4 separate regions of the Homo sapiens genome follow, and all the other regions are linked to region 1. Evidence: promoter capture Hi-C in 16 types of primary human blood cells and fetal thymus (Javierre and others, 2016). All regions are on one chromosome and are shown on one strand. Each heading gives the region's core, a stretch centred on a gene start or on the middle of the fragment in contact. The rest is flanking DNA. Distances are from core to core; before and after follow the strand shown.

What was found. Contacts are between HindIII fragments. The CHiCAGO score rates a contact against its expected background, and 5 or more counts as called.
Region 2: a contact is called between a fragment that was not itself captured here and the fragment with the promoter of TGFB1I1 in region 1, in 1 of 17 cell types (naive CD8 T cells). The highest score is 5.6, in naive CD8 T cells.
Region 3: a fragment that was not itself captured here is called in contact with the fragment with the promoter of TGFB1I1 in region 1 in 4 of 17 cell types (naive CD8 T cells, naive CD4 T cells, endothelial precursors and 1 more); the score reaches 7.0 in naive CD8 T cells.
Region 4: a contact is called between a fragment that was not itself captured here and the fragment with the promoter of TGFB1I1 in region 1, in 3 of 17 cell types (activated CD4 T cells, total CD8 T cells and erythroblasts). The highest score is 8.2, in activated CD4 T cells.

What each region holds. Positions count from the first base shown.
Region 1 is chr16:31,470,258-31,474,384 of GRCh38, forward strand. It overlaps TGFB1I1 (transforming growth factor beta 1 induced transcript 1), which reads left to right and starts at 1,895. Exons shown (of 11, transcript NM_001042454.3): 1 at 1,895-1,944; 2 at 3,184-3,299; 3 at 3,425-3,477; 4 at 3,578-3,720; 5 at 3,895-3,982; 6 at 4,093-4,127. The coding sequence starts at 1,932. RefSeq lists an enhancer at 2,234-2,774. The HindIII fragment of the contact is 20,246 bases long and covers 1-4,127 here.
Region 2 is chr16:31,751,036-31,755,162 of GRCh38, forward strand. KRABD5 (KRAB domain containing 5) reads left to right here. Exons shown (of 5, transcript NM_001130913.2): 4 at 2,731-2,865. Among named protein-coding and RNA genes, the nearest start is that of KRABD5, 40 kb to the left of the region's middle. The HindIII fragment of the contact is 1,903 bases long and covers 867-2,769 here.
Region 3 is chr16:31,191,861-31,195,987 of GRCh38, forward strand. It overlaps a transcript of FUS not described here. Among named protein-coding and RNA genes, the nearest start is that of PYCARD-AS1, 8.0 kb to the right of the region's middle. The HindIII fragment of the contact is 5,764 bases long and covers 1-4,127 here.
Region 4 is chr16:31,726,572-31,730,698 of GRCh38, forward strand. The region is part of intron 3 of KRABD5 (KRAB domain containing 5); the gene reads left to right. Among named protein-coding and RNA genes, the nearest start is that of KRABD5, 15 kb to the left of the region's middle. The HindIII fragment of the contact is 8,496 bases long and covers 1-4,127 here.

The sequences.
Region 1 (4,127 bases), core at 645-3,144:
TAGAGACGGGGTTTTGCCAAGTTAACCAGGCTGGTCTCCAACTCCAGACCTCAGGTGATCCGCCCGCCTCGGCCTCCCAGAGTGTTGGGATTACAGGCGTGAACCACTGAGCCTGGCCTTTAAAATATTATCATTATTATTTGAGATGGAGTCTCGCTCTGTTGCTCAGGCTGGAGTGCAGTGGCACGATCTCAGCTCACTGCAGCCTCCACCTGCCAGGTTCAAGGGATTCTTCCGCCTCAGCCTCCCAAGTAGCTGGGACTACAGGTGCCCACCACCATGTCTGGCTAATTTTTTTGTGTGTTTTTAGTAGAGACTGTTTTCACCATGTTAGCCAGGCTGGTCTCGAACTCCTGACCTCAGGGGATCCACCCACCTCGGCCTTCCAAAGTGTTAGGATTACAGGTGTGAGCCACTGCTCCTTGCCTAATTACCTGTCTTTTTTGTTATTGCCATCCTAATAGGTATGATGTGGCATCTCATTGTAGTTTTGATTTGCATTTCTCTGGGGACTAATGATGTTGAGGATCTTTTCATGTAATCATTGGCTATTTATATAACTTCTTTGAACTGTCTATTCAGGTCGTTTGCCCATTTTTTCTTCTTTTTCTTTTTTATTCTTGACACAGGGTCTCCTCTGTTGCTCAGGAGTTCAGTGGCACAATCTCAGCTCACTGCAGCCTCTGCCTCCAGGTTTCAAGCAATTCTCCTGTCTCAGCCTCCCAAGTAGCTGGAATTACAGGCTCCCACCACCACGCACAGCTAATTTTGTGTTTTTAGTAGAGATGGGGTTTTGTCATGTTGGCCAGGCTGGTCTCGAACTCCTGACCTCAAGTGACCTGCCCGCCTTGACCTCCCAAAGTGCTAGGATTATAGGTGTGAGCCACCATGCCTGTCTCGCATTTTTAAAAAGCTCCCCAGGTTGTTCCGATTTGCTGCTGGGTTGATACTCACATTCCAGTGCTCAGATCTGTCCAGAAGAGTGGCTGCAGCACAGTTGTCTGTCCATAACTACCTCTATGGCCTCTCGTTTCCACCTCGTTTCTCAGGGTCTCAGTCCAGGGAAGGCCTTGCCACTTTGTGGCTGGAGACTGTGTCTTGCTTTCTGCTCTGAGTTCATCAGTAACTTGGGAAAGGGCTGTTTCAGAGCAGGCCTGGGCCACCTCAGTGCTGAGGAAGGGCTTTGTCTTGCAGGCTGGCTGGGGGTTGGTTGCCTGGGAGTGTTTTCCCCGAATTTGCAAGGGGCTTGCGCCCGGGTTCGAGTTTACGTGTGTCCATGACCAAGTCTTGGAGGGAAGGTCCTAGTGTAGAGTCTGTGGGTGGGTTCACTGTGTCTGTCCCCGTCCCTCAGATTTCTTTGTGTCTGGTATGTATGCCTCTTGGGGCCTCTATTTATCTGTCAGGGTCTCCGATGGGAGGGTCTCCGAACCTGAGGTCTAATTGAGCCTTAGAATATCACTCCTGCTACCAATCCAAAAATTCCGTCTGGGACAAGTCTCCCAGGAATGGCATGGGTGGGAGGGAGGCTCTTGTCTAGGACTCAGGCGCTAGCTTTGAGCGGTGTCTGTTTGGGGGCCTCAGTCCGTGTCTGTAAGTCTCCCTAGGGAGCGGCTCTGGGGCTTGGTCTGGAGAAGCCACTTCTCTCTGGCTCTGGCCTCCTGGGGCTCCCTGCAGCTGAGGCCAAGGCTGGGGTGTGGCCGCCTCCGCGGCAGGCCGGCGGGCTGGGCTCGGGTGGGCCGGGGCGCTCCCTCCTTTCCACGCCCCCACCTCGGGTTCCCCCGTTCATCGCCCCCCCATCCCCATCTCAGCGGGTCCCGGCTTCCTTACATGGTCACGGCCGGGCTTCCAGCTCCCGGACGTCCCCCGCCCCCCGCCCCCACCGGACACGGCCCCCGCCCTGTTCGCCCCGCGCCACCGGCCCGCGCCCCGCCATGGAGGACCTGGGTGAGTGGGGCCGGATCCCCGGGTCCGTGGCCCCTCACCGCTGCCCAGAGCTGCCTCCCCGCCGTCGCTCTCCCGCATCTCCCCATCCCTGTCTTCTTACTTCTGCTTTTCGCCTCTGCCCGCGCCTCCTTTCCAACTCCACGTCCCCCTTCCTGCCTCTCCCTTCCTGCCTTTCCTGGGCCGGCCGCTCCCTCCCTTCTTCCCTCGCTGTGCTCCTCCATCCCAGGCTGCGGCAGATGGAACGGGAGGTGCGGCGCCCGCGGGCGCCCGGGCGCGGGGCTCTGGGGAGGGAGGGGTTAAAGGGGCCTCGGCCCGGGGACCGGGAAAGTAGAGGGCACGGGAAAGTCTGGCATCAAGTTTTGGAGAAAAAAAGCGGGCCTGCCTGCACCAGAGTTTTGGGAGAGGAGGAGTTAAGGGCTCCTGAGCACAGTGAGGGTCAGGTCCTTGAGGCAAGGAAGAGAATAGTAACTCAGGAGTGCCTAGGCGCCCGCGAAGGCTTCAGGGTTTCACGCGGGTGCTCAGAGACGAAGACTGAGGGCAGGACTTCTGGGTTCTGGAAGTGAAAGGGCTCAAAAGACCCGGATCTGGGGATGCAGGGATGGAGAGAGGTGTCTTGTCCGGAAGGGGGACCCAGGTATCTCGTCCTCCCTGCGAAGCCTGGGGCTGGAAGGCTGTGCGCTCCACGGGAGAGAGGGGCTTCCGGCCCCTGGCGGTAGAGGGCGCTGCTCGGTAGGGGTAACTGACGCTGTACCGCAGATAAACAGCCAATCAGAAGGCAGGTCCCAGCGAAGCGCCAGTGAGGAGCCCAGGGCGGGACTCAGGGGCCTGGGAGTGGCCAGGCTGGGCGGGGCCTGTGTAGGTAGAGGGAGGAGTTAACCAGCATGGAAGAGAGAGCGTCCAATCAGAAAGCTGAGGGCCAGGCACTGGGCCAATGGAGCAATTTGGAGGGGAGCCAAATTTGGCTTGGGTGAAGAGCCCATTTTGACTGCATCAGAGAAGATGGGGAGAATAAAATAATCAGGAGGCTGGGTTTGTGCTTGGCTCCAAGCGTGAGCAACTGGGATATTCTGGTCATAAATATTCCTTGCTACCCTTCGAGCAGTGCTCTGCCTGGCTCTGGCCCTGTGACCTCTTCTCTTAATACTGGCTTCTGTCCTTCTCCAGTACTGCCCACTGGGAACCTTATCTTCTGATCTAACCGTGACCCTTGTCTCTCTCCCTGATGGCCTCTTCCTGCAGATGCCCTGCTCTCTGACCTGGAGACTACCACCTCGCACATGCCAAGGTCAGGGGCTCCCAAAGAGCGCCCTGCGGAGCCTCTCACCCCTCCCCCATCCTATGGCCACCAGCCACAGGTGAGATCGGATGTTGGGGACTGGGGCAGCCACTAGGGCCAGGCTCGGCCTGGTCTATGGGGATCTCAGCCTCAGTGGGGCAGAGTGCAGGCCTGTCATCCCACCTGTGCGTCTCCGCTCTGTAGACAGGGTCTGGGGAGTCTTCAGGAGCCTCGGGGGACAAGGACCACCTGTACAGGTGAGGGGCCTGGAAACCAGGGCATGGGGGCCAACTGAGTCTCAGGTGAGGAGGCTTGGATTCCCCACCCCTGAACCCAGGCTCCCACTCTGCTTCCCAGCACGGTATGCAAGCCTCGGTCCCCAAAGCCTGCAGCCCCGGCGGCCCCTCCATTCTCCTCTTCCAGCGGTGTCTTGGGTACCGGGCTCTGTGAGCTAGATCGGTTGCTTCAGGAACTTAATGCCACTCAGTTCAACATCACAGGTACCAGGGTGACTGAGAGAGGCCTTGATGCGATAGGGGCAGGGGAGGGAAGGGTGGGGCAGAGACTAAGAGGAATACACTTCCCAGAGTAGCAGTTAAAGGGACCTAAAGCCTCAAGTGTGAGGGTGCGTTGAGCATGGCCCTATATGTAGCGTCCTCCTCTCCTCTCTCCAGATGAAATCATGTCTCAGTTCCCATCTAGCAAGGTGGCTTCAGGAGAGCAGAAGGAGGACCAGTCTGAAGATAAGAAAAGACCCAGCCTGTGAGTTTGGCGTCGTTGTCAGGGCTGAGAGATGAGTCCTGGATATCTGAGTCACTAGAGGGAGCGTTGCTCTGGGAGGCTCTGAGATGACACAAGCATGTTCTTCACAGCCCTTCCAGCCCGTCTCCTGGCCTCCCAAAGGCTT
Region 2 (4,127 bases), core at 568-3,067, 280 kb after region 1:
AGGTGTGAGCCACTGCGCCTAGCTTTTAAATTTTGATTCTATATGGTGAATCACATTTTTAAATTTCTATATGTTAGACTAACCTTGCATTCTAGGAATAAAGCCTAGCTAATTGTGGTAAATTAACTTTGAGTATGCTGCTGGATTTGGCTTGCTACTATTTTGTTGAAGATTTTTGTGTCTATGTTCATTAGAGATATTGTCCTGTAGTTTTATTTGTTCATTGTGTCTTTGCCAGATTTTGGTAACAGAGTGATGTTGGCCTCATAGAATGAAAGGGGAGGAGTCCCTTCTTATATTTTGGAATAGTTTAGTAGAACTGATACCAGCTCTTCCTTGTACTTCTGATATAATTCAGCTGTGAATCCATCTTGTCCAGGGCTTTTTTGGTTGGTAAATTTTTTATTACTGATTCAGTATCAGAACTTGATACTGGTTTGTTCAGGGTTTCAGTTTCTTCCCTATTCAATCTTTGGAAATTTTGTGTTTCTAGGAATTTATCCATTTCCTCTAGATGTTCTAATTTATGTGCATAGAAGTCTCTGAGAATCTTTTGTATACCTGTGGGATCGATTGCAATGTCCCCTTTGTTGTTTCTGATTGTGCTTATCTGGATCTTCTGTTTTTCTTTGTTAACCTAGCTAGTGGTCTATCAATCTCGTTTACCCTTTCAAAGAACCAACTTTTGGTTTTGCTGATGCTTTGTATGGAATTTGGGGTCTCAATTAATTCAGTTATCTGATTTTAGTTATTTCTATTCTTCTACATTTGTGCTCAGCTTATTTTTCTTTTTCTAGTTTCTTTACAAGTGATGTTATATCATTAATTTGAGATCTGACTTCTTGAAATAGGCATTTCGTGTTATAAGCTTCTTTTAATGTGGCTTTAGCTGTGTCCCAAAGATTTTGGTATGTGTTTTCTCTGTTTTCACTTATTTCAAAGAACTTTTAAATTTCTGCCTTGATATCATTGTTTACTCAAAAGTTGTTGAGGAGCCAGTTGTTTAATTTCTATGCATTTCTGTGGTTTTGAGAGATCTTCTTGGTATTGTTTTCTGTTTTTATTCTATTTTAGTCCAAAAGTATGACTGGTATGATTTTTTTCTTTTTAATTTATTGAGACTTGCTTTCTGGCTGAGTGTATAGGGTCAATCTTCAAGTATGTCCTGTGTGCATATGAAGGATGTATGTGTTCTGTGGTTGATGGGTGGAATATTCTGTAGATGTCTATTAGGTCCAGTTGGTCTATTCTGTAGATGCCTATTAGGTTATGTGGAATTGATGTCTAAAATTTCTTTGTGAATTTTCTGCCTCAGGGATCTAATGATGTCCATGGGATGTTGAAATACCTCACTGTTATTATGTGACTAATTCTTTTCTCAGGACTAGAAGCACTTGTTTTATGAATCTCGGTGCTCCGAAGTTTGGTGCATAGGTGTTTAGCATGTGTAGGTATTCTTGTTGAATTGAACCCTTTATCATTATGGAATACATCCTTGTGCTTTTGTATGGTTGTTGGGTTAATATTCTCATTTCTTAAAGAAGTCACAAAATGCCAGGTTCAGTTGCTGGTTTCATCCCAGCACTTTGAGAATCTGAGGCTATAGTATTCCTTGAGGCCAGGAATTTTTGACCAGCCTAAATGACCTAGCAAGACCCTGGTTGTACAAAGAACTTAAAAAATTATTCAGATGTGATGGTGTGTTTTTGTAGTCATAGCCACTTGGGGAAGTGAGGTAGGGTGACTGCTTTAGGCCAGGAATTCGAGGTTCCAGTGAGCTATGATTGTACTCTGGCCTGGTGACAGTGCAAGACCTTGTCTATAAGACAAAGATAGATATTTTAAATTATTTTAAAATTAGTTAATAGATTTCTACTTCTCTAGCTTCACTTGGATATTAATATGTTAGTTAATAGATTTCTGCTTCTTTAGATTCACTTTCATTTTGGTCCCTTTATTGAGCCATGTGTTTTGGTTACTTTGATGTCTTGTGATTTTGTTGATATTTTGATCAAGTAAGAGACAGCTACCTATTCCATCTATTATGGAATGAATTTGTACATGTGAAAACTGATACCCATCAGGTACTCTAGTCATTCTGGGAGATTCTTCATACTGTTGTCAGGATGTTTCTTCTCTGGACTACTGTGTGTATTTTCCTATTAAAAAGGTTTGCTTTTTTCTTTTTCTCTTAGGAGCCTTTAATCTCCCCCTTTGTTGAGTGTCATAGGCACTACTGTCTCTCTGTTCTTGTAACAAGCATTCATGTTTGTTCTCAGTTGACCCGACATATCATTTCAACTATATCACCATTTTCTTCAGCACCACATATTAAAGGAAGCAATGGCCAGTCTTTAGATAGCCCCAGAATAACCCAGAACTTTGGACATATGTTTTGCTCCTTTTATTTTTCTTTCCTGAGAGCGAAACAGAATGCGAAAAATTTTTGTGTAACTGCACTGTGCTGTGGTGCACAAATACAACAAACTTTCTTCCTTCTATATGTGACCATTCTTGGCTTTGTGTTCACCTAGGTGCTGCAAACTCACCTGGCTTTAGTCACCCTATTACATTTAAGTTCATATATCAATTGAGAAAACAAAGGGGCCTCAAGTTTTTGATTCAACTATCATGGTGTTCTCAACGTGATATAATTTGTGTATTAGATTTATAAAGTATTTTCACCTGAATTTAGTAATTGGAATTTTGAAAACTTTTGGTATCTTTCAGATATCTTTTCTCATGATACTCAAGGCCTCTTAAGAAAGAAGCTTATAGAAGCATCATTCCAAAAAGTGATATTGGATGGATATGGGAGCTGTGGCCCTCAGAATTTAAACTTAAGGAAAGAGTGGGAAAGTGAGGGTAAGTGTGAAGGTCACAATGGATATTATGATGGACATACAAAATGTAAGACAACTACCTATAACAAAAACCTCACTGTTACAGGAGGTCAAAAACATGAAAAAACTCAATTTATGTCAGTTGCTTTTTCTAAACCATGTGTTTCTGTAAGTAAGTGTCAACATCAATTTTTGAAACTTACCTTTTCTTTTAAAGGAAATTTGGATAATCCGAATAGTGACTTAGTCCATGTTTCAAATAATCATTTAAACCAATTAAAATATAGAACTGGAGTAAATGTTCAGTCAAATATTTCTGAAAAGGAGAGATTTAAAAACGAGGAGGTGATTTCTAAATATGATCAATTTGATGGATCTTTGTTAAAAGTTTGTTTCACCAACAAATAACACCTCGTTCTGCCTGTGATCAATATAGAAAGGTCTTCATTCATTCATCATTGCTTAATCAATGTCAAGGAATAGATAATTTGGGAAAATATCACACACATAATAAAACTTTGACAGCCTTTAGGCAGGACTATACCCTAAATAATTACCAGTATATTTGTGTTGCAGAGAAAAATCAGTACAATAAATCTGATACAACATTAAGCCAAGGCATAAGCCCCAGAAGACATCAGAAAACTCATTTTCTACATAACCATTGCAAACGTAAAAAATGTGAGAAAGCCTTTCATGAATGCACCAACCATGTCCATCAGAGTATCTTTATTCAAGAGAAGTCTGCCAAATGTAATAAGTGTATAGAAACTTTTATCCAGTCATCAAAACATACTCAGCCTCAGAGAATCCATATTGGAGAAAAGTCACACAGATGTAATAATGGTGAGAAAATCCTTAGTAAATTGTCAAGTCTAAGAAAACATAAGATAATCCATAATGAAGAGAAACCTTACAAATGTAAAGAATGTGACAAAGCCTTTAACCATCGTTCACACCTTACTCAACATCAAATAATTCATACTGGAGAGAAACCATACAAATGTAAAGAATGTGGCAAAGCCTTCAATTCTAGTTCATATTTTACTAGACATCAGAGAATTCACACTGGAGAAAAACTTTACAAATGTAAAGCGTGTAGCAAATGTTTTACTCATTCTTCAAATCTTCTTGTGCATCAGAGAATTCATACTGGAGAGAAACCTTACAAATGTAAAGAATGTGGTAAATCATTTAAAGTGTCTTCAGCCCTTACTCAGCATGAGAGAATTCATACTGGAGAGAAACCCTATAAATGTAAGGAATGCAGCAAAGCCTTTAACT
Region 3 (4,127 bases), core at 407-2,906, 280 kb before region 1:
TTTACCACATTTATTTGCATACTGGTCTTAGTTTATTTGCAGCAGTTTATCCCTTTTTAAGAACTCTTTGATCTTTTGGCCCTTTTAATGGTGAGGCTCAAACAAACTACATTTAAATGGGGCAGTATTCAGATTTGACCATGGTGGAGAGCGCTTAGCCACTCTGGGTCTTTCACAGGAAGGAGAGTAACTGAGTGCTGCAGGAGTTTGTGGAGTGGAGTCAGGATCTAGGAGGTGAGTGACTCCCTTCCTAGCTGCCCTGGTGAACAGCGCTTGGGTAGATACCTGCTATAAGGAGACTGGTCTGGCTGGGTTACTTTCACATCCTGCCTGTACTCAGAGGGCTTGAGGTCATTGACATTATGAGATTTTAGGCTTGATCCCTTTTTGATTGGAGGGTGGAAGGCCCTCCTAAGGGAATGATAAGTGATAAGAGGGGGAAGGGGTTGCAGCCAATGAGTTAAAACCTTAGAGCAGTGCTCCTCAGCCTCTTACCATGTGGTTGTAAACTTGCACGTACCTGCCAACCAGTTATTTAGCATGCTTTTTATTTTAGTTACACAGAGCGTAACATTAACCCAAGAGCAGAAAGGTTTTATTTACAGGGTTTTCGAACTTGGTTTGTAAGACAGCTGCCATCACAAGCATAGCTTACAAATGTGCTGGGGACCCCTAATTGGGAAGTGCTTTCCTCTCAAATTTTTATTTTTTATTTTTAGAGACAGAGTCTTGCTCTGTCATCCAGGCTGGAGTGCAGTGGCGTGATCTCGGCTCACTGTAGCCTCTGCCTCCTGAGTTTAAGCGATTCTCCTGCCTCAGGAGAATCCCAGCTTCTGAGTAGCTGAGACTACAGGCGTGGGCCACCATGCCCACCTAGTTTTTGCATTTTTAGTGGAGGTGTGGTTTCACTGTGTTGGCCAGGCTGGTCTCTTAACTCCTGACCTCAGGTGATCCACCTGCCTTGGCCTCCCAAAGTGCTGGAATTACAGGCATGAGCCGCTGCATCTGGCCATCCTCTCAAATTTTCAAGTGTTCCACAAGTATGTTCTCTACTGAAGAGTTGCTGCATCCTTGAATCTTGGGTGATTTGAGGCACAGAAACTATGACTTTATTTTTTGAGATGGAGTTTTGCTCTTGTTGCCCAGGCTGGAGTGCAATGGCACGTTTTTCGGCTTACCGCAACTGCCGCCTCCTGGGTTCAAGCGATAGCTGGGATTACAGGCATGCGCCACCATGCCCAGCTAATTTATTTGTATTTTTAGTAGAGACGGGGTTTCTCCATGTTGGTCAGGCTGGTCTCGAACTCCCGACCTCAGGTGATGTGCACACCTCAGCCTCCCAATAAACCATGACTTTTAAGAGGAATAGCAGGTTTACTTCCCCTGCCAGCATTGGGGTGCTCTCTAAGCAACAGTAGGCGGAGAGTGGTCTGGCGTATTAAAAACAAAGGATCGTCAAGTGGGCCTTCCCAGGCATTGCTTTGACTTAGTACATGTAGAGGATGTGGCAGTTCTCTCCGTCCCTGCCACTGCTGGTTTCTTTGTTAAATGTTTAGTTGAAATGGCCTGATACGATATTTGAGTAGTTCACTGTTGGTGCTTTGCCTAGCAGGATTCTAATCTTGCTTTGGTTGTGGTCCCCTGATGCCCTCCTGTTAGGAGTGGAGGAGGTCGAAGCTCCTTGTAAGATATGATTACTGGGACCATTAGTGTCAAGTTCCTGTGTCCTTCAAATGGCATATGTGATTGGCCTTGACCTTAAAAGGAAATAGGGTCCCAGGTGACTGTTTAGTGGGTAGGTCCAGTTTGGGGGGATCTTCCAGGAGAATGGATAGAGACACCTAGCAGCAGAGAGAACATTGGTGCCTCTCAAGCCAACCTCCCACCTCAGCCTCCCAAGTAGCTGGGACTACAGGTGCTTCCTCGCTACCACACCTGGGTAATTTTTTTTTTAATTACTTTTTTTTTTTTAAGAAACAGGGTTTCACTGGGTTGCCCAGGCTGGTCTTGAACTGGCCTCAAGTGACCTGCCTGCCTCAGCCTCCCAAAGTGCTGGGATCACAGGTGTGACCCACTGCGTTTGGCCAGAATACTCTATTCTTACTGAATGATTGAAATCTGTCTTGAAGCATTAGGTGTCCCATTTTTGTGAGTTGGAATTGGGACAGGCTAAGTAGGAAGTGAGGAGGGTGGGGAGAGCTGTGCTGTAGGTCTGTTTGTCCCTTCCTTGATGTAGCCTTCAGTTAGCCCTTTCAGCTTTTTTCCCCATCTTGTGCCGGGCCTTCCTGGGTTTCAGTACTTGGATGTAGGGCTGCAGTTATGTCAGTGGTGGGTAGATTGACCAGGAATTAAGGTCTAGGGTCCAGCCCATGTGAGACTTGACTCACTGATCTACCTTTAGGCATGTCTTCCTTCCAGTCTCATCCTTTTTAAATTTTTTTTTTTTTTTTGAGACGGTCTCACTCTCACCCAGGCTGGATTGCAGTGGTGTGATCTCGACCAACTGCAACCTCTGCCTCCCACCCGCAAGCTATCTGCCCACCTCAGCCTCTGGAGTAGCTGGGACGGGACTACAGGCACCTGCCACCATGACTGGCTAATTTTTTTTTGTATTTTTTGTGGAGATGGGGTCTTGCCATGTTGCTCAGGCTGGTCTGGTCTCAAAACTGCTCTGGGCTCAAGTGATTGTCCCACTTTGGCCTCCCAGAGTGCTGGGATTAAGGTGTGAGATACTGTGTCCGGCTATGAAAATTTTATTTTTAATTAACTTGTATATATTTATGGGGTACAATGTCCTATTTCTGTACATGTACACATTGTGGAATCAAATCAGGCTAATATATCCATCACTTCATATCATTAGCATGAATGAGAACATACAAAGCCACTCTTAGAAAATTTTGAAATTTATGTTATTTCAGCCCTTTTATGCTGGAGGTTGCAAATGTTTTGTGAATAATCAGACCAAAAATAAAAACAAAAAATGATTGACTTCAGTCATTCAGTAAGAATAGTGTGTTCTGGCCGAGTGTGGTGGGTCACACCTGTAATGGAGCACTAGGCGTAAATGGGTTGAAACGGGTCTCCCTATGTTGCTCAGGCTGGACTTGAACTCCTGGGCTTAAGTGATCTTCTTGCCCTTAGCCTCTCAGCTGGGACTATGGATGCATGCCACTGTGTCTCACGTTTTTATGAACTGTAGTCACCATGCTGTGCAGTGGCTTACCAGAACTCATTTCTTGCATCTGAAGTGTTGTACCCTTTGTCTCCCTGCTTACCCATACCTCCAAGCCTCTGGTAACCCCCATTCTACTTTCAGTTTCCGAGTTTGACTTTCTAGATTCCGTGTATAAGTTCATGCAGTCTTTCTGTGGCTTATTTTAGCATAATGTCTTCTAGATTTATCGATTCACCCATGTTACAAATAACGGTTTCCTTTTAAAAAGCTGAATAGCATTCTGTTGTGTCTACATACCACATTTAAAAATCCATCCGTTAATTGGGCACTTGGGTTGCTTGCATATCTTGGCTAGTGTGAATAACGCTGCATTGGGTGGGAGTGCAGACATCTCTGACGTACAGATTTCTTTTTTCTTTTTTGGAGACAGAGTCTTGCCCTGCCACCCAGGCTGGAGTGCAGTGGTAGGATCTTGGCTCACTGCAACCTCTGCCTTCCAGATTCAAGTGATTCTCCTGCCTTAGCCTCCCAGGTAGCTGGGATTACAGGTGTGCACCACCATGCCCAGCTAACTCTTGTATTTTTAGTAGAGATGGGGTTTCTCCATGTTGGCCAGGCTGGTCTCAGTGGGCCCCAGCGATCCTTCCGCCTCGGGCTCCTGAATGACTGGGACTACAGGTGTGCTACTGCACCTGGCTATTTTGAAATAATTTGACTTAGAAGAATATTTCTACAATTGTGTTCACCTTCTTATGCAAATACAATCTTCAGTGGCGCTGGCATATACAAGCTGAGAAAGTATTGTCAAGTGGGTTGTGCCAGCACATCTGACCAGGATTTTTTGTTGTAGAAATATTGGATCCTCACCTGAGGCCAGGAGTTTGAGACCAGCCTGGCTAACATGGTGAAACTCCGACTCTACTAAAAATACAAAAATTAGCTGGGCGTG
Region 4 (4,127 bases), core at 582-3,081, 260 kb after region 1:
CCAACATGGCAAAACCCCGTCTCTACTAAAAATACAAAAATTAGCCAGGTGTGGTGGTGCATACCTGTAATGTCAGCTGTTGAGGAGGCTGAGGCAAGAGAATTGCTTGAACCCAGGAGCGGAGGTTGCAGTGAGCCAAGATCACGCCACTGCACTCCATCCTGAGCAACAGCGAGACTCTGCCTCAAAAAATATATATAAAATAAAATAAAATAAATTTTAGAATTTATTTCTATTTCTCTGAAAAGTGACATTGGAATTTTAATAGGGATTACACTGTATCTGTAGATCACTTTGTGTAGTGTGGACATTTTATCAGTATTAATTTTTCCAGTCCATGAACAAGGGATATCTTTCCATTTATTTGTGTCTTTTTCAATTGTATTCATCACTGTCTTACAGATTTTACTGAGCAGATCTTTCACCTCCTTTGTTAAATGGAATCATAAGAATTTTATACTTTTGATGCTATTATAAATTGGATTGTTTGCTTAACTTTTTTTCTCAGATCATTAATTGTTAGTATATAGAAATGCAACTAATTTTTGTATGGTAATTTTGTGACCTCAGCTTTACTGAATGAGTATTAGCTCTAACTCTTTTTGTATACTCTTTAGGGTTTTCTGTATATAAAATCACCTAATCTGCAAGCAGAGAAAATTACAATTCTTCGTTGCTGATATGAGTGCCTTTTATTTCTTTTTTTTACCTAATTGCTCTTGTTGCAGGGCAGGTGAGCCCCCAGATTGGGGCTTATCCTGGGAAGGTTCACGGCTTCACTCAGGAAGAATTCAAGTGCAAGATAGTGGTAGAAGAAAACAGCTTTATTGAGCTGGCAGTGTTGCAGCTCTATGACTGCTCCTGTGGAGCGAGGCTACCCTGTAGGCAGTGTGCTGAGAGGAGCAGTTCTGCAGTCATGTACTTATATACCCACTTTTCATTACATGCAAACTAAGGGGCAGTGTTTTTTCCCTTCAATTTTTTGGAAGAATTTGAGAAGGATGGACATTAATTCATCTTTAAATGTGTGATACAATTCACCCATGAATTCATTTGGTCATGGGCTTTTTCTCATTGGATTTTTTTATAACTGCTTCAATCTCCTTTCTTATTATTGGTCTGTTCAGTGTTTCTGTTTCTTTGTGATTTAATCTTGGTGAGTCATTCATTTCTAAGAATCTGTTTCTTCTAAGTTATCCAATTTGTTGTCATATAATTGTTCATAGTAGTCTCTTATTATTCTTTGTGTGTTGTCAGTTGTAATGACTCATCCTTCTTTCTTTTATGTATTTATTTATTTATTTATTTGAGACAGGGTCTCACTCTGATGTCCAAACCAAAGTGCAGTGGCATGATCATAACTCACTGCAGCCTCAACCTCCCAGGCTCATGTTATTCTCCCATCTCCCAAGTAGCTGGGACTACAGGGGTGTACCACCATGCTCAGCTAATTTTTGTATTTTTTAGAGAGAAGGGTTTCATTATGTTGCCCAGGCTGGTCTCCAAATCCTGGGCTCAAGTGATTTACCTGCCATGGCCTCCAAAAGCACTGGGATTACAAGCATGAGGAAGTGCACCCAGCCCACTTATAATTTTTTGAGTCCTCTCTCTTTTTGATCCTTTGCTTAATCTGGCCAAAAGTTTCTCAATTTTGTTTTCTTTGAAAAACTCAATTCAGTTTCTTTGATCTTTTCTATTGCCTTTCTAGTCTTTATTTAGTCTCTTTTTGTTCTAATTCTTACTATTTTCATAATTATGCTAACATTGGGATTATTTTGTTCATGTTCAAGTTTCTTGAGGAATTGAGTTAGATTGCTTATTCAACATCTTTTTTTTTCTTAATGTAGAACTTTATTATTATAAACTTCTGTACTAGAACTGTTTTGGTTGCATCACAGAAGTTTTGGTTTCTTGTGTTTCCAATTTCATTTGTCTCAGGATATGTTTAGATTTTTCTTTTGATTTCTTCTTCATCCTATTGATTTTTCAGGAGTGTGTTGTTTAATATTTACGTATTTGTGAATTTCCAGTTTTCTTTCTGCTATTGATTTTCAGTTTTATATCAGTGCAATCAGAAAAAAAAACTTGATATAATTTTAATCTTTATACATTTGAAAAGACTTACTGCTTTTTACTTTTGGTTTAACATGTGATCTGTCCTGGAGAATATTTCATGTATTCTTAGAAGACTGTATTCTCATATTGTTGGATGGGATGTTATATGTACATTTAGTCTATAGTGTTATAGTAGTGCACTGCTTTCTTAATTTTGTGCCTGAATGATCTATCCATTTTAAGTAGGGTACTAATGTTCTCTTTTGTTGTATTTCTGTATATTTCTCCTTCCAGTTCTGTTAATGTATGCTTTATATATTTAAGTATTCCAGTGTTGGGTGCATATATCTATTTAATTGCTCTATCCTCTAGACAAATTAACCTCTCTATTATTATATAGTTAACTCCTTTGTCTCTTGTGACAGATTTTGTCAGACAGCCTGTTTTGTCTAATGTAAGTATAGCTACCCCTGCCTGCACTCTTTTGTTTATCATTTGTATGGAATATCCTTTCCAGTTCTTTCACTGTTAGCTTATGTTTGTCCTTAAATCAAAAGTGAGTCTCTTGTAAGCAACCTGTCACTGGATTTTTAAAAATTCATTCAGCCACTGTCTGTTTTAAATCCATTTTGTGCTGCTATATCAGAATATTCACAGGGTATTTTATAATGAAATGGGTGATTTATAAGGAATACAAATTAATTTAGCCTGTGATTCTGGAGGCAGGGAAGGCAGAGAGCATGACACTGGCATCTGGTGAAGACCTTTTTGCTGCATAATAACATGGCCAAAGGCACGAGGGGGAGAGAGCTCCCTTTTATAACAAACGCACACTTGTGATAATTAACCCACTGCTGTGATAAGGACATTAATACATTCATGCAGGCAGAGCTCTCATGGCCTAATCACTTCTTAAAAGTCCCACTTCTTAATTCTATCACAGTGGCTATTAAATTTTAACCTAAATTTTGGAAGTGACATTCAGTCTTTATCAATGTCTGTTTATTGGATAATTTAATCTCTTTATATGTAATTATTGATAGGTAACTATTATAAGTTTGTTTTCTATTTTATACTTTGTTTCTTTTTTCCTCTTATGCTTTGGTCATGTTAATTTTTTGTCTTGTTTTTGTTGTTTTTATATACTTTGATTACTTTCTTTTTTTCTTGTATCTACTACAGTTTTTTTTTCTCTAGTGGTTATAAGACTTACATAAAACATCATATAACAGCCTAGTTTAAGATGATAATTATCCAACTTTTATGCATAGAAAAACTCTATGCTTTTCCTCCCCTTCACACATTTTATACTATATATGTCACATTTTAAAACTTTTTATATTTTGTATTCATTAACAAATTATCATAGCTATACTTTTAAAAAATAGTTTTGTTTTATAGTTCTTATACTAGAATTAAAAGTGACTTATGTACCACCATTACAATATTCGAGTATTCTGAATTTCACTATTTACCATTTCCAGTGATGTTTGTAGTTTTAATGTTTTCATATTTAGTTAGCATTTCATCACTTCAACTTGAGTAATTCCCTTTAGTCGTTTAGCATTTCTAGACAGGTCTAGTGGTGATGAATTCCTTTAATTTTTTTTTTGGTGGGGGGGTCTTGAAATGTCTTCATCTCTCTTTTATTTCTAAAAGATGCTTTGTTGTGTATAGCCTACTTAGTTGTCTTTTTTGTTTGTTTGTTTGTTTAATTTTCCTTCTTTCAGCACTTTTAATATATGGTATCACTCCCATTTGGCCTGTAAGGTTTCTGCTAAAAAATCTACTGATAACATTATAAAGTTTCCCTTGTATGTGAAGAATCTCTTATTTCATGCTGCTTTCATGATTCTTGCTTTGTCTTTGAATTTTGACAGTTTAATTATGATATGCCCCAGGGGAATCTTCATTAGGTTCTTCTTGCCATGGGTATTTTGAGCTTTATGAAACTTCTTGTTCATATCCTTTTCCAGATTTGGGGAGTTTTAAGACATTATATCTTTAATCTTTTTTCTTCTTTCTTTCTTCTTCTGAAAATCCTAAAATATGTATATTTGTTCACTTTATGA